Linked DNA regions of Homo sapiens: region 2 is linked to region 1. Evidence: promoter capture Hi-C in human tissues and cell types (Jung and others, 2019). All regions are on one chromosome and are shown on one strand. Each heading gives the region's core, a stretch centred on a gene start or on the middle of the fragment in contact. The rest is flanking DNA. Distances are from core to core; before and after follow the strand shown.

Region 1 (4,080 bases), core at 1,099-3,598:
GAGGCACAGAGATATCAAATAGTTTGCTCAAGTTTATACTGCAAATAAGTGGCAGAGCTGAAACTTGAATCCAGGCAGTCCAACTCCAGAGGCCCTGTTCTTGACCAGCATATTATACTGCATCTCTACAAAAGCTGGTGCATATAAAGCTTTTGGTTCAATCTGGCAAGTTGTTAACAATAAATTATGGTTACTAGCATGATTGCAAGATTAACAGTGATCATACTGGAAGCAGCATTTTCACCCTTGTTAATACTGTTCATAATGCACAAATATTAATGCACAAATATACACAGAGAACACATACAAACGGATATATGAATCTAGAGGATATTAAAGCTGAAGCAAATTATGGCCTCTGATCAGAGTGATTGGACCCAATAAAGCTAAGAATTCATTATGTTACATAGCAAGGCAATTAAAAAGTCTCAAGAACAAAGTATATGAATTTGGGTTATATCTACGTTGTTGTAATTTATCATGAGTAGAATAAGAAATAAAAGTACTACTAAGTTATCTTCCACTATTTTTATTAGGAACATGTAATATACTTGAGAGGAGGTATAATTTCTGGTTCATTTTTGTATCTATGATTTGACCTTAGCCTAGGAGAATGAACGCAAGGCAAATAAATACCTGTTGAATGAGTGAATGGAATACTAAGATGAAGAGTCGGCTTGGTGGTACGCTATTTTTTTTTTTTTTTTCTGAGATGGAGTTTCTCTCTTGTTGCCCAGGCTGGAGTGCAATGGCACCATCTCAGCTCATCACAACCTCCACCTCCCAGGTTCAAGCGATTCTCCAGCCTCAGCTTCCTGAGTAGCTGGGATTACAGGCGCCTGCCACCACGCCCAGCTAATTTTGTGTTTTTAGTAGAGACAGGATTTCTCCATATTAGTCAGGCTGGTCTCGAACTCCCGATCTCAGTTGATCCGCCCACCTTGGCCTCCCAAAATGCTGGGATTACAGGTGTGAGCCACCGTGCCCGGCCCAGTGGTACACTTTTTAGGGACCCAACAACATAAGCGCCCTTTTAACCTGCCCAACAACATATCCCTTAGAGAGCAGTCACCCTGTTTCATCCCAGGCTCCAGACCCAGAAAGGCTGGAGAGGACATGGGAAAATCTACAGATTCAGTTATGGCTCTGGATGTCCCTGTTGGTTCCAGTTGGAACCAGGCCTCGGTCTGAATCCCATCACTTCTTTCTATTCCAATCTGCTTTCCAAAGGCCTTGGGATATCCAGTAGTCACTCTAAACCACCCTAAACAGAAAGCAGAGAATTCTCTTTTAACTCTCCAGTGCAATATTCCTTGATATACACCAGTACCTATCCGACTGTTCTATTCCATGAAGAAACTGGGACTCAGAGGGCTGTGACTTGCTGAAGGTCACAGGGGCAGAGCCGGGTGGACTGGACCTTATTTCCCTGGTCCCGTTAATGCAAATGCTGATATCTTATCTCCCTCCGTCTCCCCAAATCTCCCTCTGCACACTTCTGTCTTACACTCTGGGAGACCAAGGCATCTTTAGTCGCCAAAACAATGCTCAAAGAAAGAAAAGTATGAGTAGAAACACCTGGAAGCTGGTCTGGTTCGACCCTCTAATGGTACAGATAGGGGAAACCGAGGCCCAGGGAATAAGAGGGTCTTGCCTAGAGTCACACAGGGAGCCAGTTCTAGGCCACCACTCTCACGGTTGCCTCAAATTTTGGGGACGACTTGTGTGCAGTTTTTCCTTTCTGTCGCTTCAGATGGCAAATGCTCCTCTCCCTGCCCATTATATGAACAACTAAAGCTTAATTTGTTTTTGTTTTTGTTTTCAAGAGACGGAGTCTCGAGTCTCGCTCTGTCACCCAGGCTGGAGTGCAGTGGCGCGATCTCGGCTCACTGCAACCTCCGCCTCCCGGGTTCTAGCAGTTCTCCTGCTTCAGCTTCCCAAGTAGCTACAGGCGCACGGCACCACTCCCGGCTAATTTTTTGTATTTTAGTAGAGACAGGGTTTCACTGTGTTGCCCAGGATGGTCTCGAACTCCTGAGCTCAGGCAATCCACCCGCCTCGGCCTCCCACAGTGCTAGGATTCCAGGCGTGAGCCACCGCGCCCGGCCTAAAGCTTATTTTTTATGTGTATGTGGAAAGCGGGGAGAAGAGTCCCCGAAGATGGGAACCTAGCGCCACCCAGCCCAAGGTTGGCCCTCATAACCGCTCTCCGCTTCGACCAAAGGGCGAGGGTTGCCCGCTCCTAGTCTGCCGCTATGCCCCTTTCTCCCACCTCAGGCTCAGTACCCACCGGTGGGCTGCGGGGCTGGAGCTGGGGCCGGCGGGAACGCGGAGCCTGGGGGTGGGAACAGCCTCCGAGCCCTCCCGCGCCTCCGCCCCTAGCAGCAGGCGCACGTTGCTAGGGCGGGAGTGCTGGAGAAAAGCCTCCGGGCACCCTCGCAGGCCGCCGAACCGCAGTTCCGTTCGCCTAAAGCTGGGACGGGAACTGAGCGCCCGGCGCTACTCTCTTCGTGATCAGGTCCAGAGGAGAGGACGCTTGTGCCCAGGACTCCGCTGCCAGAAGAATCTAGACAATCCAAGCAAAACGGGTACCTTTGTAATAGCTATGGAGAAAGCACTTAATAAAGGTCATCTTTTAAATTATTGGTCGCTCAGACATACGTGTTGCCGTATTTCTTTGGAGTTTCCCTGATTTCGACTAGAAATTCCTCCTTTGGACACTCCCCCAGCTCCCCACTCCTCTATTCCTTTCGTTTTTTTTTTTTCATTGAACCATTACAGCCTAGTACCATAGCAAGAAGAGACCCCTCAGTACCTTCTTGAGATCCAAATGGGAAGACAGTTGTAGAAACACAGTTTTTACAGCTGCGGTCGCATTGCTACCAGACTAGAGTCTATTCATCTCCGTATTCCTGGTGCACAGTATGGGGCTTGGTATATAGTAGGGGCTTGTTGAATGTTTGTTGAATGAATCAATGGCAGGGATCCTAGCCAACATTTATTTATTTTTAAGACGGAGTCTTGCTCTGTCGTCCAGGCTGAAGTGCAGTCGCGCGATCTCGGCTCACTGCAACCTCTGCCTCCCAGGTTCAAGCGATTCTCCTGCCTCAGCCTCCCAAGTAGCTGGGACTACAAGTGCGCGCCTCCATGCCCGGCTAATTCTTGTATTTTTAGTAGAGATGGGGTTTCATCATGTTGGCCAGGCTGGTCTCGAACTCCTGATCTCAGGTGATCCACCTGCCACAGCCTCCAAAAGTGCTGGGATTACAGGCATGAGCCTCCGCGCCCGGCCCCAACATTTATTTTGAACCCTAGTAGGTGCCTCTGCAGTGTTGATCTGGCAAAACAGCCTTCAATGAAGATTTGTGGAGTTTCTGAAAATTGGGTGCCTTTGAGGGGGTGGGAATGGTGAGAGAAGTTTGCCTCCACATACTGGCTATTGGGTCTGTTTTCCAGTCCAGGGAAGGGATCCCCTCCATGGCATCCCTGATGAAGTATCTGTAGCCCTAGTTGATGCTCACTCTGTAATGATGGGCTGATTACTTTCTAAGCTAGTGACCTATTGTTGGGAGATTTCCTTCTGGCAGGAGAAAGTATCTACCCGTATGCCACTTGAAACTCTGATCTTCGCTCAGAACCAATGGCTCTCCTTACAGACTTAATCCCTTTCCCCCACAACAGCCTGGCAAGCTACAACCAGGATAGACTCACTGCTTTGTCCTGGGACACTGGGCTAGGCTCAGTGCAGCTACAGAGGTGAGTTACTAGATCTCTGCACCCAAGATGTTCCTGCTCTGGGGATGTTTTTCCCTCTGAGAGAGAGGCTTTAGGCTTCAGGCACGAAAGACTCCCAAACTGGTACCTGTAGCCAGGCCTCTCCCTGAGTCGGACCTGTATATCCACCTGCCACCCGCCCATCTGCAACTGGCAGTTTAAAAGACACCTCATTCTTGACATGACTCATACTGGAAACATCATCTTCCCCTCAAACCTGTTCCCCCTCTTTTCCCTGTAAGTGCTGGGCACTACCATTCACCAATCACCCAAGCCAAGGATCTAGGAGTCATTTGTAACTTTACC
Region 2 (4,496 bases), core at 41-2,540, 110 kb before region 1:
CTCTTTCACCAGAATGGGTTTCTTATGGTTAGAGTTTCATCATGGTACCTTCATTCGATAGGTATGCAATAAATAGTGAAAGAATAGTCTGAGTTCCTTGAAATTGCATAGCAAATGAGACCTAAGAGCCAGATCTAGAATGCAGATGTAGAACCTCTTTCAGTTCCTAGCCCAGTACTTTTACTGCCACACCATACAGCCTCTATCTGAGATATTGAACAATTTTTTTCTTTTTTCTTTTATTTTTTCTTGAAACAGGATCTTGCTTTGTTGCCCAGGCTGGAGTGCAGGAGCACAATCTCAGCTCACTGCAACCTCTGTCTCCCAGGCTCAAGCAATCTTCCCATCTCAGCCTTTCGAGTAGCCGGGACTACAGGCATGCACCACCACGCCCAGCTAATTTTTTGTATTTTTGATAGAGTCGGGGCTTTGCCATGTTGCCCAGGCTGGTCTCAAACTCCTGAGCTTAAGCAGTCTGCCCACCTTGGCCTCTTAGAGTGCTGGGATTACAGGCATGAGCCACCATGTCCAGCCTCATTTGCATTCTTGTACTGCATTTTCATTAAATCATTCAAGTTCCTTTTATCTTGTGTAACATATTTAATTGCATTTTCCTACTGAATAAAAAAAAGGGAACAGTTCAAATGTTTTCTAGTTTCTGTCTTATGCCATATTAATTTCCAATATTACTCATAGGCAAACCAACAACATTATTATCCAAACAGTTTAAATGCTATGTAATATAACTAAAGCAAAGTTTAGACAAGGAGGACCATTGTCTACATTTGATTATAACAATAAAGCAGTTAAAGCAATGCTTTGCCAATGTATATTTGTCTGACTAGCTAGTTTTGTTTAAATCAAACTGTGAAAGGCTGTATACTTCAAGAAACATGAAAGTGAGCCTTATGTGTGACTTAGTTCCTTTCAGAGATTAATTTTGTCATCTAATGAGCAAGCAAGCTATTATATTTCATATTTACTGTACCTTAAAATTGGAAAGTATTTAACATATTTTATTTGACCCTTACAATACTATGAGATTGGCAGCGTAGGTATTTTAATATCTGTTTTGCAAATTTTGCAAATTTTGGTGATTTGCCTAATGTCACATGGCTAGTATATGGCAAATGTGGGTCCAGAGCTCAGAGCCTTTGATGCCTCGTGCTGCATGCTTTCTCCACTCTAAGATACTATCTAGAAAACACTGAAATTGTCACATAAATCATACTAAAGCACAGTTAGCGGACTGGAAGTGCGTCAAGGCTACAAAAGGATCCTGTAAGAGGAGCATGAAAGGGTGCATCATGTGATTACATTATTCCAGGATGTGGCTTACCCAACAACAAAAGGTATCACAGAAATGGAGTAAAGTAGCTGGGAGATCCACTCCCCATTGGACTTAGGCCCTGTTATCATTACATAACTAAAAGACCTTTTCAGTTTGTTTGTTTGACATATCAAATTTGAGTTGTCCTATTAGAACCAGGCAAATAAAAGCTTTTGTAAAGGCCTTTGGAAGAATGTAGTTGTACACTTGATCTTCTTTGTACAGAAGGGTGGGAGTGGGCAAGAGAAATAGGAGCTTCTATGTTATTTGCCACCAGAACAGGATATGTAAAGCTCAGAAACCCATCCTGCTTAGCTGCTTCCCAGCAAGCCATCCGGAGAAATGGGGCTGGAGAAAGCGGTTAGTCTAGTGTTATGGAGCCTTCTATCAGAAGCAGATGTTATGGATTCACCTAACTAAAGAATGTTAGTGTCATCATTTAATAACATAAGCCTCAGTTTCCACATCTGTAAAATAAAGGAGTTGGATTTGATGATACTTTTTTTTTTCTTTTGAGTTGGAGTTTCGCTCTTGTTGCCCAGGCTGAAGTGCAATAGTGTGATCTCGGCTCATTGCAACCTCTGCCTCCTGGGTTCAAGTGATTCTCCTGCCTTAGCCTCCCTAGTATCTGGGATTACAGGCATGTGCCACCACGACCGGCTGATTTTATATTTTTAGTAGAGATGGCGTTTCTCCATGTTGGTCAGGCTGGTCTTGAACTCCTGACCTCAGGTGATCCGCCCGCCATGGCCTCCCAAAGTGCTGGGATTATAGGCGTGATCCACTGCGCCTGACTGATAATTTAATTTTTTAAATAGGAAATATATTCATATGGTTTGTAATTCAAAAAGTACACAAGGATATTCAGTGAAAAGTATTTCATTTACTCCTACCCACTTCTGACCAGCTCTCCTTAGGGACCACGGTCCTATTTTGCCTCCCAGGCTCAACCAACAACTTTGTTGTTTCCCCCCAACTCCCCTGCAGATAGTATAGGTGTATAAAAATAACATGAACATACTCTGTTTCCTTTTTAAGTTTTTTACAAATTATAGCATACAGTATATTCTGCTTTTATTTCATTTCATAATACGTCTTACAGATCATTCTATATCAATATATATGATCGTTCTCATTCTTATTCTGCTAAGTATTCCATTGTATGAAAATATGATAACTCATTTAATCAGTGCCCTATCAATGAACATTTAGGTTGTATTTTTAATATTTTGCTATTACAAACACTCCTGTTATAAGTAACTTTGTACATACACATTTCACATATGTGCCAGTTTATCTGTAGAATGAATATTTAGAAGTGGGATTACTGTGTTAAAGAATGTGGGCAGACTGATGACTGTTCTAGTTTTGATCTTCTATGAGACTTTAACTGAAAATGATTAGTGGAAAAGAAAAAGTATCATTTTCTTGGTAATATCTTAATTTTTATCTCTTACTATTCAGAACTAAGTCTTAAGTAAGAGCCAAGAATAGGTAATCTCTCCAAAATTATGTTGAATTGCAGACTTCACTAAAGTCACCTGCATCATGGTCTTGTAGATTTTTCTATTGCTTTTCAGTATAATACTATTCAAGCTATTTGCAAGGTGAATATTATAAACTCAGAACAAAAGGAGACTGTCTCCCAACTATGTTTACTAGCATTTACCAAGTAGAGGATTCAGAAGATTTGCTCTTTATTACAATTTATGTAGGGAGTGAAGATGGAAAGATGAAACAAAGAGAGCCTAACAAATATCTGCCTCTGTCTGTGTTTTACTGTCTTCCCAAATTTTTGGATGGTTATGAGGTGTGTGATAACTTTACAAAGTGTATGATACCATAACAATTACTAATCTTTTGGGGATTTGTTTGTTTGTTCGTTTGTTTGAGAGACAGAGTCTTGGTCTGTCGCCCAGGCTGGAGTGCGGTGGCGCGATCTCAGCTCACTGCAGCCTCAACCTCCCTGGCTCAGGCTATCCTCCTGCCTCAGCCTACCAAAGTAGTACAAAAGTAGATCCTATGGCCTCAGCCTATAGCTGAGACTACAGGCATGCATCTCCACGCCTGGCTACTTTTCTTGATTTTTTGAGGAGACAAGGCCTCACTATGTTGCCCGGGCTGGTCTTGAACTCCTGGACTCAAGAGATCCTTCCACCTCAGCCTCCCAAAGTTCTGGGATTATAGGCATGAGCCACTGTACCCTGCCTGTTTTGTTTTTAATTAATACATAATAATTGTACATATTTATGGGGTACAGTGTGATATTTTAATACGTATATAAATTGCATAATGATCAAACGATGGTGTTTAGCGTATACATCACCTCAAACATTTATCATTTCTTTATGGTAAGAACATTCAGAATTCTCTCTTCTAGATATTTTGAAATAGCCACAATAACATTGTTTACTATAGTCACTAGTCTTTTGGGGAAGCTAGGGACCATAAAGCAGATCAGAATTGTATCAGCCCCTCATGCTTTCTTGACTATAACCTACTAACTTTTCTTTTCTCCCCATCTCACCTCCCTCATTCTCTTTCTAGGTACAATAAGCCATTTGTGAAATTTTCCCTGTTCAATAGCAAGTTTAAGCCAGAGCCTCCATCCTTTCCATCTCTGAATTCCCTATAGCCTCTGGGGCAGAGGGTACTTCATAATACTTGTTGAGTTGAATTGAGGTAGATGTCAAAGTGATCTGACCTCACTTTGCTCCCCTCTCAAGTGCCATATCCTTCCTTTTCCCTGCTCAGCCTTGACACACCTATCAAGCCATCCCTTTGCATGCTTAATTTGGTTCAGGAAAGGACAAGAGACCAAGTAAATTATCTTGAAGAGGAGTCTGTGTCTGCCTATGTTTAAGTAAATGCGCACACACACCTATCTTTCTGGCTCCTGCTGCCATTCTTTGTGTTGCGCTTAAAAATTGGGGGCCGGGTACGGTGGCTTACACCTGTAATCCGAGCATTTTGGGAGACTGAGGCAGAAGAATCACTTAAGGGCTGGAGTTCAAGACCAGCCTGGGCAACATAGGGAGACCCCTTCTCTACAAAAAGTTTTAAAATTAGCTGAGCATAATGGTATGTACCTATGTTCCCAGCTACTCTGGAGGCTGAGGTGGGAGGATCACTTGAGCCCAGGAGGTGTAGGCCGCAGTGAGCTGTA

Evidence for each region. The method cuts DNA at HindIII sites, captures the fragments that hold promoters and counts their contacts. A contact is called where the count stands out against the background at its distance.
Region 2: a contact is called between a fragment that was not itself captured here and the fragment with the promoter of WDR31 in region 1, in 2 of the 25 tissues and cell types used here (bladder and pancreas).

Annotation. Positions count from the first base shown.
Region 1 is chr9:113,337,927-113,342,006 of GRCh38, forward strand. It overlaps WDR31 (WD repeat domain 31), which reads right to left and starts at 2,349. Exons shown (of 11, transcript NM_001012361.4): 1 at 2,291-2,349. RefSeq lists a silencer at 2,119-2,358. The HindIII fragment of the contact is 4,545 bases long and covers 1,956-4,080 here.
Region 2 is chr9:113,227,020-113,231,515 of GRCh38, forward strand. The region is part of intron 1 of SLC31A1 (solute carrier family 31 member 1); the gene reads left to right. Among named protein-coding and RNA genes, the nearest start is that of SLC31A1, 7.7 kb to the left of the region's middle. The HindIII fragment of the contact is 3,999 bases long and covers 1-3,290 here.